Regions from separate parts of the Homo sapiens genome. Here region 2 is linked to region 1. The links are contacts of gene promoters, found by promoter capture Hi-C in human tissues and cell types (Jung and others, 2019). All regions are on one chromosome and are shown on one strand. The core of a region is centred on a gene start or on the middle of the fragment in contact, and the rest is flanking DNA. Distances in the headings are between cores, read along the strand shown.

Evidence for each region. Contacts are between HindIII fragments. The study calls those that stand out against the background at their distance.
Region 2: a contact is called between a fragment that was not itself captured here and the fragment with the promoter of LOXL4 in region 1, in 1 of the 25 tissues and cell types used here (mesenchymal stem cells).

What each region holds. Positions count from the first base shown.
Region 1 is chr10:98,266,173-98,269,978 of GRCh38, forward strand. It overlaps LOXL4 (lysyl oxidase like 4), which reads right to left and starts at 2,022. Exons shown (of 15, transcript NM_032211.7): 1 at 1,960-2,022. LOC124902489 (a long non-coding RNA gene) reads left to right here and starts at 2,270. Exons shown (of 2, transcript XR_007062260.1): 1 at 2,270-3,806. RefSeq lists enhancers at 968-1,469, 1,470-1,969. The HindIII fragment of the contact is 18,964 bases long and covers 1-3,806 here.
Region 2 is chr10:98,435,864-98,439,669 of GRCh38, forward strand. The region is part of intron 3 of HPS1 (HPS1 biogenesis of lysosomal organelles complex 3 subunit 1); the gene reads right to left. Among named protein-coding and RNA genes, the nearest start is that of MIR4685, 6.4 kb to the left of the region's middle. The HindIII fragment of the contact is 6,299 bases long and covers 1-3,806 here.

The DNA.
Region 1 (3,806 bases), core at 772-3,271:
CTCAGGTCCCTCAGCTATTAGGACCCAGTGGTCACATGGGTCTGGGCTGAGTGACAACCACACCTTCTCTACCACCCCCAGGAGTTGGAATGCTTCTATCTCTGCCGCCAAATTGTGTCTGGAGTCAAATATTTTCCTTTCTCTGAGTCTCAGCTGAAAAACCTGTAAAATGAGGGGGTGGCACTAGACAGCCCCCCTATCCGACATGCTCTGATGGGGCCCAGGGTAGGCTGGGCAGGTCTGCTGTTTGGCTCCTGGCTGAAGTCCCTGACACACTGAGGAGGTCTTGTTACAGGCTGTGGACAGTCCCAGGCCAGCAGCTCCTTCCTCTCCAAGGGACCAACCTGAGGGCATGGGAGGGCTTCTGCTGTAGGACCCTGGGGTCTGGGCCAGGGAAGCTCCCTTCCATGAACGCTGCTGGAAGGTGGGGGGACGGCAGCGGGAACCAAGAGTTAGATGCAGGGAGAGTCCCTCTTATTGGCCTTCCTGCCCACTATAGGCCCCCGAGAGCTTTTGCTCACACCAGACTATAGCCTTCGTCTCCCAGCCTCCAAGCCTTTGCTCTCACTGTTCCTTTCCCTCTATCTAAGACTGTTAAACTCCTACACATCCCACAAGGCCAGCTCAAATGCCACCCCCTCCATTAAGCCCTCCCACAAAGCCTTCCACAAAGCACATTGTGTGTTTGCTTCCTGACCCCACAACCAGACTCCACCTGTCTGTTCCCCTAGCACTGAGCACAGAGGACCAAGCTGTGCATCCTCCCTCAGAGAAGGAAGCGGCCTCGAAAGTGGCCGTTACTTTCCCAAATAAAGGAGAAGGGGACAGAAGAGGGAAGGAAGGTGGAAGGGAAAGAGGAGGGGAGGGAAGTGAGGATAATAACTATACATTTTAAAATACGGATTAAATACTTATCTCCATTTTACAGATGAGAAGGTAAGGTCCAGGGAAGTCAAGTAACTTGCCCAGCCAGGATTCAAACCCAAGCAGCCTGGCTAGACGCCGGACTCTCAAAACCACCAAGAATGGATGTTGGAAGAGGGGGAGGAGGAAAGGAAGGCCGGGAGCCGACTGAAATTCCACCCTGTTCTGGTGGATTTATGACCCAGGCCGTGGTGTGAGGGCACTGGGCAGGGTGCTCTTCGCTGAATGCCGAGTGACAGATCCAAGATCTTGCCAGCTTGAGGCACAGAGGCACCTGCTCCAGGTGTGCCAGGAGATGCTGGGACCTGGCCTGACCTAGCGCAGGTAGGGAGGGCTGAAGACAGCAAATGCCCGAGTATTCAAGAGAGAGCATGGGGGGTGCTGTCCTGAGGGTGCAGCAACTTTAGGATGGCTCATCCCTTCTCTGCCGTTGGGCAGCTCTTCTCAGCAGCCTCCTCTCAGCCCTGTAGCCTCCCCGGGGTTACTGACTCTGTGGACCTGAAGCAGTGCCAACAAATGGTCTCTGAGCTGTACCTGTCCAGGCTAGGAAAGAGGGGGCTTGAAGTCTTCTGCCCCCTTCCCTTCGGTGTTTCTGTCACACGCCGACCCCCCAACATAATCAGCTCCGGTCTGGATAGTTGGAGAGCCCAGATCAGCCCTGGTTCGTTGTCCCCCAAGTCGTAAGTGTGACATCTGAACCCGCCTTGCCCCTTCCCTGTCTCCTCCCTGGAAGAAGGCAGAGCAATGGTTACACACGGCGTGTACACAAACAAGACACGCAGGCACCCCTGAGGCCTGGGCGCACCACTCAGGGCGGGCCTTGGGCCAAGCTCCCCAGCGTGGTCACTTGTCCAGTTGGAAGCAGGTTGGTGAGCGACTGGAGGGCCGGGCTGAGGGTCCAAGGGATCCCCCATGCACCCTAGGCCCAGTCTCCAGGAACCCTCAGAGGCCTGCAGACTCACAGAGAGACAGAAGGACAGATGGGACAGCAAGAGGCAGACCAAGAGGCAGACGCGCGGCCAGGCGGGGGCTCACCAGATGGAGCGCGGACAGTCCGGGGCTGGGCGGGCGCCGCGGCGGAGCAGCGCTAACGGGCTCCCTCCCCGGGCGCCCTGGGGCCTTTTTATCCGCCTCCCGCCCGCGGCCCCCCAGCCCCGAGCTGGCCGCGGAGGAGGCCCCGCAGGCCCCGCCCCGGGCGGGCCTGGAGTCCGCGGGCGCCCCGCCCGGCCTTCCGCGCGGCGCCCCCCGTCGGGACACAGGCCAGGTGGCGGGGGCGCCCAGCCGCAGCCGGCGGGGCCGGGAAGTCCCGGGGGGCGGGGGGAGCGGGGGGGCGGCGGGGGGTCGCGGGGAGCGGAGCTCTCGGGAAAGGGCGGCGCTGGGCCCGCGGCTGTTTTGCAGGGAGGGCCGCGGCGGCCTCGGGAGTCCCTCTCCCAGGCAGTTTCCTCTTTTGCAGAACAAGGTAATGACGCCCACCTAGAGTCCCAGTCTGTGAGTCCTGGTGGGTGCCAGGGCCCCCGGCACAGCACCCTTCGCACGGGAGCGCCCGGCTGTCACAGGGGCCGAATCTCACGAGCTCGGTCACTTAGGACAATGTAGACGCCCTTTCTGGGAGGCCGGGGCTCAGTTCAGAGAGGTCGAGGTGGCGCGGTGCAGCGGTGCTCTCCTGCAGGAACAGGCGAGTCACCCAGAGTTTACTGAATACCGCCCCCCCCCCCCCCCCCGCCCTCCGTGTGAAACTCTGCGCTGCCCATTGTGCAGCTGGGAACACTGAGCCCCAGGCGACATAACTTGCTCCTCCAGGCAATACACAGTGAATGGGAGAACCCCTTCACAGAGCTGAATGATGCAGTCCTGGCCCTTGTCAGACTCACGGGAGGAGGGTGTTAGTGCAGGGAGCAGGGACTGTAGAATTAAAGAAATGTGGACATGGCTGACAGAGAGGAGTCCCATCAGCTGAACTGAGCACCTAGGTGCCTGAACCCCAGTCCAAGCCCCCAGTTTCTTTCCCCTAGACCTGGTCCTGCCCTTAGCCTCACTGGCCCCATCTGTAAAATGGGCAGAGGGTTCCAGCCTCCCGGTTTCCTCCCTAGGCCCACAGCTGCCCAACCTGGTTCCCCCTCTTGCCCCCACCTTGCCTAAACGTCCTTCCAAAGGTTCATTCATCCCACAAGCCTTTATTGATTTTCTCCTACATGCTAGACAGGGTGCTGGAGTGCTAGACGCTGGAGGGGGCCTTCCCAGTCTGGTGGGGGAGGCAGATGTGCAAGTAAGAATAAGCCTGGACAGGCAGAGTGTGATAGAGCTAGGATGTCAAGATGGACCTTTTCGATCCTGGGTGACAGCCAGGTCTTAATGACCCTGCTGCCAGGGACCTGCCATCCACTCCTGGCTGCCCGTGTCCAAGATGTCCCCCCAGTGCCCCTGCCCCACCCCAGCTGGGCCCAAAACATTCCCCATGATGAATCAGCAGGAAAGAATGCTCCCAGCCTCGGGTCAGTGGCAGCAGCCCAGCTCCTCCCCCAGGGACAATGAGGCAGCTGTGGGCTTGGGTGCCAGGTATGCCTAAGCCCTCTCCTAGGGCCCAGCCACCTCTCATGCTGAGCCAGAAGCAACACAGAGGGTTCGGAAACGTGGGCTCTGCCTGCTGCCAATCACTCACCAGGCCTGGCTGCCCAGAACTAAAAATACCCTGGAGCGCAGGGGCGGGCGGAGGATAGAGACCAGGGAATGAATGGATGTTGCCCGGAAGTCCTTTAATTTGCACAACTCTGGGCAGAGGCCAAGGCTGGGAAGCAGTGGAAGTGGGGATCTCTAAGGCATGCGCTGTGAGCCCCCAACCCTGAGAAGTGAGGGGCTCTGGTCCCAGCCCCAGCCCATGGCGT
Region 2 (3,806 bases), core at 684-3,183, 170 kb after region 1:
CCATAGTGTTAGACCCTCCTGGGAGGGTATCACTGTCCTGGTAGGGAGGGGAGCAAAAAGAGACTGTCCCCAACACTTCGGGTGGTGGTTAGGAAGAATGGGGAGGGCCAGCTGGGTAATGGTGCTGTTTAGGCTCTGAATCTAGAAGGAAACATTAAGGAATTGGGCCTCATTACAACAGTGGAATGTGGGGAGCACTGAACGGGGAGCTGGAAGGAAGTTTGTAGCATGTACCAAAGTCTATGCTGTTTTTTGCAATAAGTCTACTTTGGAAAATTTGTCCTAAGGAAAATGATCAGAGATTGGGACAAAGATACATGCACAAAGATGTTCACTACTGCCTAATTTATAATAGCAAACAACTGGAAAAAAAATGTTAACATCTAGTATCAGGGAAATAGTTAAATAAATAGCAGCACATCAAAATTATGGAAGGGTCTATAGCCACTTAAAATATTAGAGTGTTTCAATGACATGGAAAATTCCTCTGATACAATGTTGTAGCTAAAAATAAAACAAGAATGTGAATGCATAGAAAAAACGAAGTATTGATAAAATACTGAGAAAGCCAACACTATTAAAGTTACTTCTGGATAGAGGAATTAGGAGTGATTTTTTTCCCTCTATTTTTAAGTATGTTTCTGTACTTTTCCTATTTTCCATAACAAGCCTGCATTGACTTTGATAAGCTCTTCCTCCATCCATTCTCTCAGCTCTCCAAAAGAAGGAACAAAACAAATAAACAAAAACAAAAAGGAACTGGACAAGTTTGTTGCAAATGTGTGAATAAAATGGGATAAAGCCAGTGGAACAGTTACAACTCAAATTCTCCGTAGTGGAATAAAAAGAAAGGAAGAAAACAGCAGACTTCCCAAGAAGATTTCAGGAGACGTGAATGAAATATGGGGAAGGCACAGTCCTAACTTGGAGCTGGGGAAGTCTACAAGAAGCTGAGTAAGACCTTGCCTTGAAAAGAAAGACAGGCAACTGGCCAGCGGGAAGGTGCAGCATTGAAGTACAAGTGGGACACAGCACTATGGAGTAGGTTTTCCTGCCAACATTCGGGAACCAAGGACTGTACCCAGCTCCCACAGTTAGTCTGTCCAGCTTTCACAGTGGCTCCTACTTATCATTCTGGTTCCAGCTCAGATTTTTTTTTTTCTGGCCACCTCAGGCTACCGCCCTCCACCTCTGTCACTCCCCATCCCATACCCCATTTAACTTCTCCAGACTATTTGTCACTATCTGAACTCATGGTACTTATTTGCCATCTGGTTCACTGTACAATGTCCTTCTTTAGACTCTAAGTTCCATGAAAGCAAGGATCATGTTGCTACGTTTACTGCTTTACCCCGAGAGACTGGCACATGGTAGGTTCCCAATTAATATTTGGTTAATGAATACCCCACAGATAGGCGAGAATTCCATAAACAGGCAAGAATTCAAATATTTGCTGAATTATTCATATACCATGATTTTCTTGAACAAATTTTATTAATAGAGAAGTCACTTATGAATCTAGATGTTGATAGAAACTCATCGTAAAAGCAGTATAGTCACATACTGAAGAGCAATGTTTTGGTCAGCAACAGACCACGCATGATAGTGGCCCCATAAGATTATACTGCTTTATTTTTGCTATACCTTCTCTATGTTCATTCAGATACACAAACATTTCCATTGTGTTACAACTGCCTGCAGTATTCAGTACAGTCACATGCTGTAGGTTTGCAGCCTAGGAGCAACAGGCCATACTGTACAGCCTAGGTGTGTAGTTGGCTACACCATCTAGGTTTGTGTAAGCACACACTATGATGTTCACATGACAAGGAAATCACCTAATGATGAGTTTGTTATTAACAGAATGTATCACCATCATTAAGCAGGGCATGACTATAGCTTTTTCTGCAGGAATAGAACTTTTTTTTGGTGAGGGGATGACATGGTTAAGCTTTGTGTCCCCATCAAATCTCATCTTGACTTGTAATCCCCATAATCCCCACGTGTCAAGGGAGACCTGGTGGAGATAACTGAATCATGGGGGTGGTTCCCCCAGGCTGTTCTCAACTTGTTCTCATGAAAATGAGTGAGTCCTCACCAGATCTGATGGTTTTATAAGGGGCTCTTCCCCACTTTTCTTGACACTTCTTCCTGCTGCCTTGCGAAGAAGGTGCCTTGTTTCCCCTTTGCCTTCCACCACGACTGTAAGTTTCCTGAGTTCTCCCCAGCCATGCTGAACTGTGAGTCAATTAAACCTTTTTTCTTTATAAATTACCCAGTCTCAGGCAGTTCTTTATAGTGGTACGAAAACGGACTGACACAGTAAATTGGTACCACAGAGAGTGAGGTGCTACTATAAAGATACCCAAAAATGTGAAAGTGACTTTGAAACTGGGTAACAGGCAGAGGTTGGAACAGTATGGAGGGCTCAGAAGAAAACAGGAAGATGTGGGAAAGTTTGGAACTTCCCAGAGACTCATTGAATGCTTTTGAACAAAATTCTGATAGTGATATGGACAATGAAGTCCAGGCTGAGGTAGTCTCAGATGGAGATGAGGAACTTATTTGGAACTGGAACAAAGGTGACTCTTGTTATGCTTTAGCAAAGAGACCGGCAGCATTTTGCCCCTGCCCTAGAGATCTGTGCAACTTTGAACTTGAGAGAGATGATTTGGGGTGGAAGAAATTTCTAGGTAGCAAAGCATTCAGGGAGTGACTTGGGTGCTCTAAAAAGCACTCAGTTTTATGCATTCACTAATAGATGGTTTGGAATTGGGACTTATGTTTAAAAGGGAAGCAGAACATAAAAGTTTGGAAAATGTGCAGCCTGATGATGCAATAGAAAAGAAAAGCCCATTTTCTGAGGAGAAATTCAAGCCCTGGCTGCAGAAATTTGCATAAATAATGAAGAGCCAAACGTTAATCACCAAGACAATGGGAAAAATGTCTCCAGGGCCTGTCAGAGGTCTTCACAGCAGGCCCTCTCGCCACAGGCCTGGAGGCCTAGGAAGAAAAAACTGTTTCAGGGGTTGGGCCCAGGGCCTTGCTGCTTTGTGCACTCTGGGGACATGGTGCCCTGCGTCCTAGCCATGGCTAAAAGGTGCCAACATATAGCTCTGGCTGTTGTTTCAGACAGTGCAAGCCCCAAGCTTTGGTGACCTACATGTGGTATTGGGCCCACGGGTGCACATAAATCAAAAACTGAGGTTTGGGAACCTCCACCTAGATTTCAGAGGATGTATGGAAATGGCAGGATGTCCAGGCAGAAATTTGCTACAGGGGCAGAGCCCTCATGGAGAACCTCTGCTAGAGTGATTAAGGGAATGTGGGGTCAGACACCTCCACACAGAGTCCCCACTGGGGCATTGCCTAGTGGAGCTGTAAGAATAGGGCCATCATCCTCTAGCCCCCAGAATGGTAGATCCACCGACAGCTTGCACCATGCACCTGGAAAAGCCGCAGACACTCAACACCAGCCTGTGAAAACAGCTGGGAAGAGGACTGTGCCCTGCAGAAGCACAGGGGTAGGGCTGCCCAAGGCCTTGGGAGCCCACCTCTTGTATCAGTGTGACCTGGACGTGGATAGAGTCAAAGGAGATCATTTCAAAGCTTTAAGATTTGACTGCCCCACTGGATTTTGGACTTGCATGGGTCCTGTAGCCCCATAGTTCCAATTTCTCCCATTTGGAATGGGAACATTTACCCAATGCCTATACCCCCATTGTGTCTTGGAAGTAACTTGTTTTTTATTTTACAGGGTCATAGGTGGAAGGGACTTGCCTTGTCTCAGGTGAGACTTCAGTCTT